Linked DNA regions of Homo sapiens: regions 2 and 3 are each linked to region 1. The links are contacts of gene promoters, found by promoter capture Hi-C in blood cells and fetal thymus (Javierre and others, 2016). All regions are on one chromosome and are shown on one strand. Each heading gives the region's core, a stretch centred on a gene start or on the middle of the fragment in contact. The rest is flanking DNA. Distances are from core to core; before and after follow the strand shown.

Evidence for each region. Contacts are between HindIII fragments. The CHiCAGO score rates a contact against its expected background, and 5 or more counts as called.
Region 2: a fragment that was not itself captured here is called in contact with the fragment with the promoter of RXFP3 in region 1 in 1 of 17 cell types (M2 macrophages); the score reaches 5.5 in M2 macrophages.
Region 3: a contact is called between a fragment that was not itself captured here and the fragment with the promoter of RXFP3 in region 1, in 6 of 17 cell types (activated CD4 T cells, total CD8 T cells, naive CD8 T cells and 3 more). The highest score is 7.3, in activated CD4 T cells.

Annotation. Positions count from the first base shown.
Region 1 is chr5:33,934,240-33,938,211 of GRCh38, forward strand. RXFP3 (relaxin family peptide receptor 3) reads left to right here and starts at 2,147. Exons shown (of 1, transcript NM_016568.3): 1 at 2,147-3,972. The coding sequence starts at 2,502. The coding sequence ends at 3,911. The HindIII fragment of the contact is 5,701 bases long and covers 1,071-3,972 here.
Region 2 is chr5:34,457,609-34,461,580 of GRCh38, forward strand. No RefSeq gene overlaps it. Among named protein-coding and RNA genes, the nearest start is that of RAI14-DT, 200 kb to the right of the region's middle. The HindIII fragment of the contact is 1,983 bases long and covers 647-2,629 here.
Region 3 is chr5:33,416,318-33,420,289 of GRCh38, forward strand. All of the region lies in intron 2 of TARS1-DT (TARS1 divergent transcript), which reads right to left. Among named protein-coding and RNA genes, the nearest start is that of TARS1-DT, 22 kb to the right of the region's middle. The HindIII fragment of the contact is 1,610 bases long and covers 1,028-2,637 here.

The DNA.
Region 1 (3,972 bases), core at 897-3,396:
TTATCTGGCATGAATCATTACATTCTAGATAACTTAGTCATGCACAAAACTAAACAAAAAATATAGTTTTAGACACTAGTAGATTGCACACTCATCTAGATTAAGAATTCCAGAGACGCTCAAAATAGAGGACTTATGTCTTTCAGCCTATCTCAGTGCCTGGCAAGAGTAAGTGGCCAATGAATGTGAGATGAATTGAATCAGGCCCCTATAATTTTTTCATAAAGTATGAATATGTACATGTGATTTGGAGCAGACCAAGTAGATATATTCCTGGGTGTGCCTAGAAGCACTGAGAAGCTGTGTATGTGTTAGATGGAGGTCATTGGTGTGAACATACCAAAAATTTAACAGCAGAGAGCTTTCAGGGTATGCCCCAGCTTTTCTTGTGTTTCAACAGCCCCTTGAAATATTAGAAAAGAGAAATAGAGACATAGATGAAGAGAGAGAGAAAATTGATGGAGAAATAACCAGTTAAAAATAAAGTCAAAACTGAGTGTGAAAGTGAGGCTACTAAAACCAGGATAATAGTCATCCATAGAAATAACCTGTGCTTTGGGAGGAATCCTCAGGGCAGGGGTGATCTCCAGGTAAGAACTGATCAAAGGAGATGTTTGTGTTTGGCTAGGTTTTTACTAAAGCCCTTACTCCCTCTAGTGGGAAGACGGAGCTGTGCAGCATCCGTAGCAAGGTGTGTGCTCTTCAGGGCTAAAAGTCCTTTGGAATCAAGATTGTTTCTTGTTTCTTTTTTTTTCTTTTTTCCTTTTTCTCTTTCTTTTCTTTTCTTTCTTTCTTTCTTTCTTTCTTTCTTTCTTTCTTTCTTTCTTTTTCGTTTTTCTCTTTCTTTCTTTTTCTGTTTCTTATCTCCTCAGCTTGAAGGTTGCATCCTCTTTATCTCCTTAAGTAAAGCTGGGAGTTCTGTAGTACTCCAGGAGTGAGGACAATTATGCTTAAGAAACTTTGGTTTCAGTTTAGTCCCAGACCAAGAGGAAAACATTTCAAAATTTTAAAGTAAATCCTAAAAGTGTAATTTACACCAGAGCGATTGACCTGGCATTTATGTAGACTGAAGCTTGAGAAGTAATTCAAGTGGTTTCCACTCATTCCCTTGGAAGAGTCCTTAGAATGTACTTCCATTGGTCTGAAAAACGCCTGAAAAAGAGTCCTGATGCTAACAGTAATGGAAATAGGAGGGCTGGTGGTTCACGATCAGCCCAGTGGTATCCTCTATTCTATTTGCATCTAGGTAAAGAGACTGTGGCCTGTATGTGATCAAACAATTTGTTGAAGCGCTTTGGGCTTAGGGCATTTAATTTCTGTGAAGTAGGACCATCAGTTGTTTGCTCTGTTTTTGTGTCACCTCTCAGAATACATTAAAGTAGGGGCAACCCTTGAGCCCAGACTTCTGCCATGTGAAGACCCTTTGAAAATCCTGACAAACACAGGTACTGCGTAAGTGGTCAGCTAATTAAAGAGGGGAGGTGGAGCTGTCCTTTGTGTATCCAATAAGTACCCATTATCTCATTTGAGCATGAAAAGAGGCCACTGTTATTACTTTCAAGAAGGAAAGTAAGCAGGATAGCTCATATTTTTAGAACAATTCCTCACCAAATGGAATAATTCCGGTGAAAAGTGGGAGTGAGGAAGAAAGAAAAAAAAAACTTCTAATCATAATGTTTGGGAATAAGAAAGGAAGAAGAAACTCACGTCAAAGCCGACTTTCTCCTGCAGCTGTAAAATAAACTCTTAAGACCCTTCCTGCTGAAACTCTGGAGAGGAAAACTGGAGTGGCGGGTGGGCTTTGCCTGCAGCTCAACTCTCCCTCGCGGCGCGGGCGCGGCTGGGTTCAGCACCTCGGAAAGCGCCCCTCGCGGCGCCCCGGGATTACGCATGCTCCTTGGGGCCCGCCGCCTTGGCCGTGCAAGTGCCACCGTAACTGGTGAGAGCCGCTGGCAACCCACCCGGAGTTGACAACCGCGGAGAGACGCAGACACCCACTGACCTCCAGGAAGCTGAGCGTGGTGGATGGAACTCTACGATCTCTTTCTCTCCAAGGACGGAAACCTCATCCAAGCAGTCCCAGAGGAAACGGATAAAGGTATTTGAAAGGGAGCGAGCGGCCCCAAATCGCACAATTGAGCGGCTGGGGGAGTTATGCGCCAGTGCCCCAGTGACCGCGGGACACGGAGAGGGGAAGTCTGCGTTGTACATAAGGACCTAGGGACTCCGAGCTTGGCCTGAGAACCCTTGGACGCCGAGTGCTTGCCTTACGGGCTGCACTCCTCAACTCTGCTCCAAAGCAGCCGCTGAGCTCAACTCCTGCGTCCAGGGCGTTCGCTGCGCGCCAGGACGCGCTTAGTACCCAGTTCCTGGGCTCTCTCTTCAGTAGCTGCTTTGAAAGCTCCCACGCACGTCCCGCAGGCTAGCCTGGCAACAAAACTGGGGTAAACCGTGTTATCTTAGGTCTTGTCCCCCAGAACATGACCTAGAGGTACCTGCGCATGCAGATGGCCGATGCAGCCACGATAGCCACCATGAATAAGGCAGCAGGCGGGGACAAGCTAGCAGAACTCTTCAGTCTGGTCCCGGACCTTCTGGAGGCGGCCAACACGAGTGGTAACGCGTCGCTGCAGCTTCCGGACTTGTGGTGGGAGCTGGGGCTGGAGTTGCCGGACGGCGCGCCGCCAGGACATCCCCCGGGCAGCGGCGGGGCAGAGAGCGCGGACACAGAGGCCCGGGTGCGGATTCTCATCAGCGTGGTGTACTGGGTGGTGTGCGCCCTGGGGTTGGCGGGCAACCTGCTGGTTCTCTACCTGATGAAGAGCATGCAGGGCTGGCGCAAGTCCTCTATCAACCTCTTCGTCACCAACCTGGCGCTGACGGACTTTCAGTTTGTGCTCACCCTGCCCTTCTGGGCGGTGGAGAACGCTCTTGACTTCAAATGGCCCTTCGGCAAGGCCATGTGTAAGATCGTGTCCATGGTGACGTCCATGAACATGTACGCCAGCGTGTTCTTCCTCACTGCCATGAGTGTGACGCGCTACCATTCGGTGGCCTCGGCTCTGAAGAGCCACCGGACCCGAGGACACGGCCGGGGCGACTGCTGCGGCCGGAGCCTGGGGGACAGCTGCTGCTTCTCGGCCAAGGCGCTGTGTGTGTGGATCTGGGCTTTGGCCGCGCTGGCCTCGCTGCCCAGTGCCATTTTCTCCACCACGGTCAAGGTGATGGGCGAGGAGCTGTGCCTGGTGCGTTTCCCGGACAAGTTGCTGGGCCGCGACAGGCAGTTCTGGCTGGGCCTCTACCACTCGCAGAAGGTGCTGCTGGGCTTCGTGCTGCCGCTGGGCATCATTATCTTGTGCTACCTGCTGCTGGTGCGCTTCATCGCCGACCGCCGCGCGGCGGGGACCAAAGGAGGGGCCGCGGTAGCCGGAGGACGCCCGACCGGAGCCAGCGCCCGGAGACTGTCGAAGGTCACCAAATCAGTGACCATCGTTGTCCTGTCCTTCTTCCTGTGTTGGCTGCCCAACCAGGCGCTCACCACCTGGAGCATCCTCATCAAGTTCAACGCGGTGCCCTTCAGCCAGGAGTATTTCCTGTGCCAGGTATACGCGTTCCCTGTGAGCGTGTGCCTAGCGCACTCCAACAGCTGCCTCAACCCCGTCCTCTACTGCCTCGTGCGCCGCGAGTTCCGCAAGGCGCTCAAGAGCCTGCTGTGGCGCATCGCGTCTCCTTCGATCACCAGCATGCGCCCCTTCACCGCCACTACCAAGCCGGAGCACGAGGATCAGGGGCTGCAGGCCCCGGCGCCGCCCCACGCGGCCGCGGAGCCGGACCTGCTCTACTACCCACCTGGCGTCGTGGTCTACAGCGGGGGGCGCTACGACCTGCTGCCCAGCAGCTCTGCCTACTGACGCAGGCCTCAGGCCCAGGGCGCGCCGTCGGGGCAAGGTGGCCTTCCCCGGGCGGTAAAGA
Region 2 (3,972 bases), core at 388-2,887, 520 kb after region 1:
AATTTTTCTCTCTCCAGTTTCCCATTTTTACTAAAGACAAATCATGGTAGGACCAATTTGCTTTATTATACTTGGCCAGATTATTTTTATAAAGTGCAGCAAGAGTAATTATTTTTCACATAGGCTTTTAAAATTGGCTTTGATGGAACATTGTTCTACAGAAGGAATCTCAGATAAGACTTTTTTAAGCCGAGCCCAGCTGTGAATTTGTACAATCGAATACGTATAAGTTGGATGAATTCTTCTACTCTTGAGGTCCCAAGATAACTGGGGGCTCTGGACTTGTCAGGAAGTGACATTCTGTACATTCTGTGACATTTTGACCCTGTACAGAGACTGTGTAGACAAGGTATGAGGCCAGTTTTCCCAAGTGGCTTTTATTGGCTAAGTCAATTTCAATTCCTTAAAGGAAAGCATACCATTCCAGCCAAAGCTTTGGTAAAATAACCAGTTTCTCCAATTGTATCCTGCTACAACTCAAAACAGATTCTTATTGCACTTATGTAAAAAACTATATTGCCATAAGTTAAGAATACTCACAGTTTCCAAATTCCAGAGAAATCAGGTAGAGAGAAACAAATATGCTCTGAATTTTGTCCATAGGAGTATATTAAATTGTTAAAAGCTGTCAATAGCTCAAAAGAAAAGCTTCCTTGACTCCAAAAAATAAAGGATCAGCAACATTTTAAGCAAAAAGTCAAAAAGATTCCTTTAGTCTTCTATTAGTTCAGTCCATGAAGATAACTTTGTTATCTTCTGTTCTGCTTGATATTAATGAACATTTCAACTCTCCATGAGTCCTGAAAGTTTTTCCTTTATTCTGAAGTCACAATCTCCAAAGTTATCAGAATCTTGCATTCAAGAGTAACTGTTAGAGTTTTATAGCTGATTATAAAACCACCTTCTAAAGAGGACCAAAACAAGACAGTAATTGCCCATGGATGACAAAAAGTTTTAGGGCAGCCATAGTCACAGACACAATTGACAAGAAAATTTGTTACCTATGTAGTACACAATAATTTAATGTAACAATTATAATTATTACTGATAATGTACACTAAGTCATATCAGAATTATAGGAGTTTTCCATAATTTTGGAACACATACAAATAACATATGTATACAAATACAGCCCAAAGAAAACCAAATACTATTTCTTATTTGACAATGCTTCCTGTATAATTTTTATACGAAATAAGCCAAATGTGTCACTTTTGGACTTTAGGAATCTAATATCTTAAATGACTAATTAGGTCAGAAAAATACATAATTTATAATTTGATTTTGGAAAGGTTGTCAAATATAAAAGGTTTAAAACACTTGATATCACAAAAGAGGATCACAGTCACAAAGTGATAACTCAATGATTTCAAAAAAGGTGAAACCTTCATTCTTTGAGAGAGGAGACTTAATTTTCCTAAAAATAAGCCCTAATAAAAACAGCACAAAGCCAATTAAATTTGTTTTCCAAAATTTTATAAACAATCTATAAAATTTTAACCTTGACTATAAGATATAACTTCCATAAAACTTTTAACCTTTATTGAGGAGTCCATTAATGTTTCAAGAAAACTTTGTTAATCTGACACAGGGGCCCATATGCTGGTCTTGTATTGCTGTATCTTTGACATTAATGGTTAATTCACAGAAAAACTGAACTTATTTTATTTCTCAAAATTGGTTCTTTAAATCTCACATGACCACCTCTTCCATGATAGTCTCTGGGCCTTGAGGAGTTGAATAGCTTTAATTTCCGGCCCTGTGTCTCAGAAATGCAGTTTATTTTATTGGCATCTTCTACCAGGCCTGATAGTAAGGCTTTAATTGCTGTCAGTGTTTAAGATTTAACAGGACTTGGTGTTGTTTTTAGACCCAGAGTCAAAGCCCTGTAACTCAATGTCACAAGGACTTTAAAAGCACATACAGAAAGATACACAGATGTAACAACCTCAATTTAAAAAAAATTTTAATATCTTTTTTCTAAGCAAACCAAAACTTAATAATAATGACATTAGAATTATTTCAATAAAATGTAAAATCTGTTGGGCCAGTTAGCAAAAGGCAAAAGAAAAGACCTTCTGCAGTGCACAGAATATTATGTTGGAAGAAAACATTTCCTTTAGCCTTTAAGAAAACGTTATTAGCATCAGGCCACAATGAACAGAGCTTTAGGGGGGAAAAAATCTTATATGAGCTGAAAATGAGTTGAAGGAAAGTGTTATTATTTCATGCCTTTTAAAGAGGGGAGAGAAAACTGAAAAGAGTGAGATGCAATAAAAATTGAACTTTGGGTTAAAAAAATTAAAATCTATTATAATTTATTAAGAGTAAATCAGTCCCTTAAGAAGATTTCATTGCTCTAACCAATTCTTTAGTGTATAAGCGTTTTTTTATATTAAACCCAGTCTCCAGAAGGACCATTATAATTTCTCTTTAATAATAGACAACTTGATCACATAAAAGTCTGTTTTAGTAAATCCTCTTATTGTGACTTACGCAGACCATTCATGACATGTTTGGACTTTCTGGTTCGTCCTGAACATTTCTCTTTCTTAAAAAACCAGACATTTTATTCTAGGACTAAATTTACCATACAAGATTCTTTCTCATATAAAATTATTTCTCTTTAAGCTTTCTTACTCAAAAATGTCTCTTTATTTCTATAACTTGCTTTACATCTCTCTTATTTCCTGGTTCTTTTTACCTTGTTTTATATATAACCTTTAAATAAGCTTTAAATTAGACAAAATTGTTCACGTTTTTAAAAAGGACACTTTTTTAGAAAAAAGGTTTTCCTACAATATATTTTTATTGGAAAATACCCAAATAATGAAATATTTATTATTTAATTTACTATAACTTTAGATTCTAAATTATGAAGAGCTCATCTACAAGTATTTATTCTATTACATTTACCTAATTATTTTATTTTAATCACTTACCTAGATTAAGAAATCTGTGACAGTCATCATTTAAAGTTATGAAACTCACCATTGCAAAGTTATAACTGAGACCATGAGAAAGATATGACCTAAATGTCTCCATCTTGCTTCTAACTTCCAAGCTGTCCTTGCTCATTCCTGGGCATAAGCCCAACTAACTTTGGGAGGAATTTAGTTTGTAGTTTAGCTTTGAAACAAAAATAACACTCCCTTCCCAAAACAAACCTCCTTACTGCCTGTGGACTAGGCTGCCTAAAGCCATAAGACTAGAAGTTACAGTAATTTTACTAAATAATTCAAGATGTAGCTATTTTTATTAAACCAATCAATGTCTTACTCGCTAAATTTTATGCAAGTAAAGATCATTCTCTTTTGGACTTGGTTTATAGTTTTGTAACCCCCGTGCCTATTGCGGGATCTGGCTAGCAACAAAGGGGCTCTTTCTTTGTTCCCAGGTGGATCGGGAGGTCAAGAAATAAAAGACACACACAAGTTAGTGAAAGCTGAGTCCAGGGGGTCACCACTGAGATGCCGCCAATGCACTGGATATACCAGCATTTATTATTAAGTTTAGTGAGGGTGGGGGTAGGTTAGTGAGGGATTTAAGGTCATTTGATTATGAGGTGAGGTGGTCACATAGGGATGAAGTAATTCTTTAACATAACATCAGTATGCAGAAGCACAGTATGCAGAGCTAAGAATTTACAATATAGTGTGTGCATCAGCAATTTCTAACAGAGCCTTAAAACGGAAACACAGTCTATCCATAACCTATGTTTAGTAAGATACTAATCAGTAGTAATAATTGCAGCAAAAGCTGGTTGCAAACAATCAATAGAAGTAGGATGTGAAACTAGACAACTGGTTAGACCACAGATTCTCAGAAGGGAGTATGTCTCAACCCTAAAGAGACCTAGAAGAGCCATGGAAAGATGGGGTGTTTATAGCCCTATCTTATCCATATGAACAGGCACCCCTCATGCATCCGTTTATAGGCTCTCCACAAGGGTCACATTCCATTCCCAGAGAT
Region 3 (3,972 bases), core at 583-3,082, 520 kb before region 1:
CATTAGATTAAAATAAAATGTGTTTCTAAAGAACAGTACAGATAGTTGAAATGACAAATTTTTATGCTGCTGGATCGTAATTAAATGTTCACTCTTATTGCATCCTTTTCCAGCAAAGTAAACTTTACCAGAAATGAAAAACAAGAGTATAATTATCTCTCTCTAGGAATACTTCTAAAAATAAGCTATGTAGTTTCTTAGAAGATCAATTCTACATCAATAAGTAGATAATTAAGAGAACTCTCCAGACAATTCAAGAATTCAAATATCACATCTTTGCCTTGGTGTCTCTAAATATCCTGTTATCATAAACATGTACTTTCTAGTTCATTTGTAAGGAATTCCTCTTGAAACATCAAGGGTTCAAAAGTTTACTGTTATCCCTTTTGTAACCATGTACTTTAATATTATACATATATTAATTGATTGTGCTGGAGAACTATAATTCAACCTAGTGTCTCATACAGTTGGTATTTCTTAGTTAGAAAAAAAAAAAACAAGAAAACAAGAAGAAACATAATCTTGTTTTGCCTCTTTCACACCTAATTGTGATTTAAAAAGTAAGGTTAATTTTCCTAAAACAACCTGATGAGACTTTATTCCAACACAAGCAACATGTGCATACCTGGGTTAGATAAACGAATAAGATACAGAGACCTGTAACACACCTGGAGGGGCCAGGTTTAGGTAGAGAATAAAAATGAGAGACTAGCTTGGGGACCCCAGAATGTGGAGATTCCTGAAAGTGAGAGACTCTGGAAAGACAGCTGGATAGCACTGATGCCTAGCATCAGTGCTATCCCCAATGGGTCACTAATTACCACTTGATGATGATAATGTTAGTGGCAACTATACACCTGCATCACTGCATTGCTCCTCCCAGAAAAGGAACTGCAAATGCTGATTTGGCTTAATCAGACCTTCAACAGAGTTAATAATCCAAGAAGACCTCCAGAGAATTGTCAAGGAGGTTTATTGTCCATAAAACATTCATGACTCCAATCCAAAAACAAGGGCAAGCTCACCAAGCTTCAGAAGCCAGAATGGCTCCATCCTACAAAAAGATAGCCCAGGAGTTCTAGCCATGGCACTGCACATACATGGGTGGATAGTTTTGTTCTGGAAGCTCAAATCTTGGGGACTGTTTTGCATCCTTCCAGATCTGATTGATTAAGAGGTAACCTTTGAATTGAGAAAGTTCACACTGCTTAGGTCAGGTTCACTGGGAATATTTGCTGCACTACAAGACTTTCTCTGGAGCCCCTGTTCCCTTTCAGAGACCCTATGCTAAGATCTTCTTGAAAATCTAAGAGAAGGGTTGAGAAGAACATCATAAACCACAGCCAGCCTATAGAAAAGTGTGATATTTGGTTCTACTACACTGAAAATGTGGGAGTTTTACATTTTACATTTATGTTTTATATACATTAGGCATACTAATGTATATAAAGCTGCTAAATGGTATGTGTCACATAATAAGAATGCACACATTCCAACCAAAGTTGCCAAACTTTGGATTGTGAGCCATCAGGTTTTTGGTAAAGTTTTACTGGAGTACAGCCACATCCACCATTTACATATTGTCTATGGCAGCTTCCATGCTATGTCAGCAGAGTTGAGTATTTGTGATGGAGACCATGTAGCATTCAAAATAAAAAATATTTGCTATCTGCCCCTTCCCAGAAAATGTTTGTCAGTCAATACTCCACTATTTTTTCATTCAGTCTTAGCTTGCCCTGGGAGCCGGATAGAAAACACGAGGTATCGGGGGAGCTCTCCTCTCCCTGATGGAGATAAACCAACTTGGAATCTCAGTATACTGCTAAGTCTCATCAAATGAACTGTTCTGTCTGAGTAACAATCCAACAGTCTTATTGTAAAAATGCATACACTTTTATTATCACAAAGGCCATACAACCAAAGATGGAAGCCCTTAAGTAACTGTCAAATCACACAAGAGGATGGGAATGACTTTCATGTTGAATTACAATTCATCATCTCAATGGTGCTTGCCAAGGTTTTCTCATTGTTTCCATTTATGAAACACTGCTTTTTAATTTTACCTCTTGAAAGGGTAAAAGAAAAAAATATGCTTTGAGTTTTTTCACTTAAAAAAGAGAAGTTCAAGTAAGTAGTGCATCTTAATAGTACTATTCTTGCTTTTAAGGGAGGGGGAAAAGGTGGGAAAGCTAGTAAATATATTTGGAGAGAAGAGGAATCCCCCTTTAAGCTAAAATATGGGTGGAACAAGTATAGTCAAACATCAGAAAAAGCAAATTATCCGTATTACCAAGCTAAATTCCAAGATTCATCTGGAAAGTATGTTCTGTGACAAACTACTCTGAATGCTCTTCTATATCACTCACCAGTTGGAGTTATTAAGGTTTATATCAAATTTCCTAGTGTTTACTCCTGGGTCTTTTTTTATTTTTATTTTTACTTATTTATTTATTTTTGAGACAGAGTTTCGCTCTTGTTGCCCAGGCTGGAGTGCAGTGGCGCGATCTCGGCTCACCGCAACCTCCGCCTCCCGACTTCTAGCGATTCTCCTGCCTCAGTTTCCTGAGTAGCTGGGACTACAGGCATGCACCACCACACTCAGCTAATACTCCTGGGTCGTTGCAAATCCCTTACGGAAGCTTTTAGCTTTTAGGTGGGAAGGCAAGTCTGTCTAAAAAAAGAGAAAAAAAGAAAAATGTAAGAGACTGACGGAGGTAGACTTCATGCTCAAACTCAGCTCTGCCATTTACTAGCTATGTGTCCTTGGGCAAGTAGATCAATTTCTCTGAGCTTTGGCTTCCTCATTCATAAACTGATGACAATAATAGTTTCCACCTCTTTAGGCATATTCATGTATGTAAAGCAGTGAAGTGGTACCTGTCAAATAATAAGAATGCAAACATTCCAACCAAAATCACCAAACTTTGGTTTGTGAGCCATCAGTTCTTTTTGTATATAAAGTTTTATTGGAACACAGCCACATCCATTCATTCACGTATTGTCTATGGCAGCTTTCACTCTACATCGGCAGAGTTGAGTAGTTGTGACAGAGACCACGCAGCCTGCAAAGCCAAAAATATTTCCTATCTGCCCCTTTCAAGAAAATGTTTGCCAGTCCTTGCATTAAACAATTTTTTAAAACTATCATTATGATAACTTCCTTTTCTTATTTTATGTAGAGAGAAACTTTCACAAACTGACTTTCAGAGAAGTATAGCAACTTAATAAGAATGATCCAACAAAGTGAAGACAGGGCTTCTCTTCTGCTCTTCCCACTGCGTATTCCTTACTACATTTATAGAACCTTGAATGAGAGCATTTTTTCAGGAAGCACATTTAGCTTAGAGGTCCCATAACACATCTGCTATTTTTCCAACTGACTGGCATTCAATTCAGATTGAACTTACTAAAATGAAACATTCTCATTTAGGGTTGTGAAAGTGATTAGAAGTTGTGCATAGTTTGGTTCTTCCCAAGAACCCTACCCCAAAATATTCTTTTTTTTTTTTTTTTTTCGAGAAGGAGTCTTGCTCTGTCGCCCAGGCTGGAGTGCAGTGGCGAAATCTTGGCTCACTGCAAGCTCCGCCTACCGGGTTCGCACCATTCTCCTGCCTCAGCCTCCCAAGTAGCTGGGACTACAGGCGCCCACCACCATGCCCGGCTAATTTTTTTTTGTATTTTTAGTAGAGATGGGGTTTCACCCTGTTAGCCAGGATGGTCTCCATTTCCTGACCTCGTGATTCGCCCGCCTTCACCTCCCAAAGTGCTGGGATTACAGGCACGAGCCACTGCGCCCGGACATTTTTTAAAAAAATTCAACTTCTATTTTAGATTCAGGGGGGTACATGTGCAGGTGTGTTACCTGGGTATATTGCATGATATTCTTGATTTTTAAAAAATTGGCTCAGATGACCCCAGTGTGCTATCTTTCTCTGGGCTCCGTTTTCTTTGAAGTCCGTGAGAGTAGGAAAC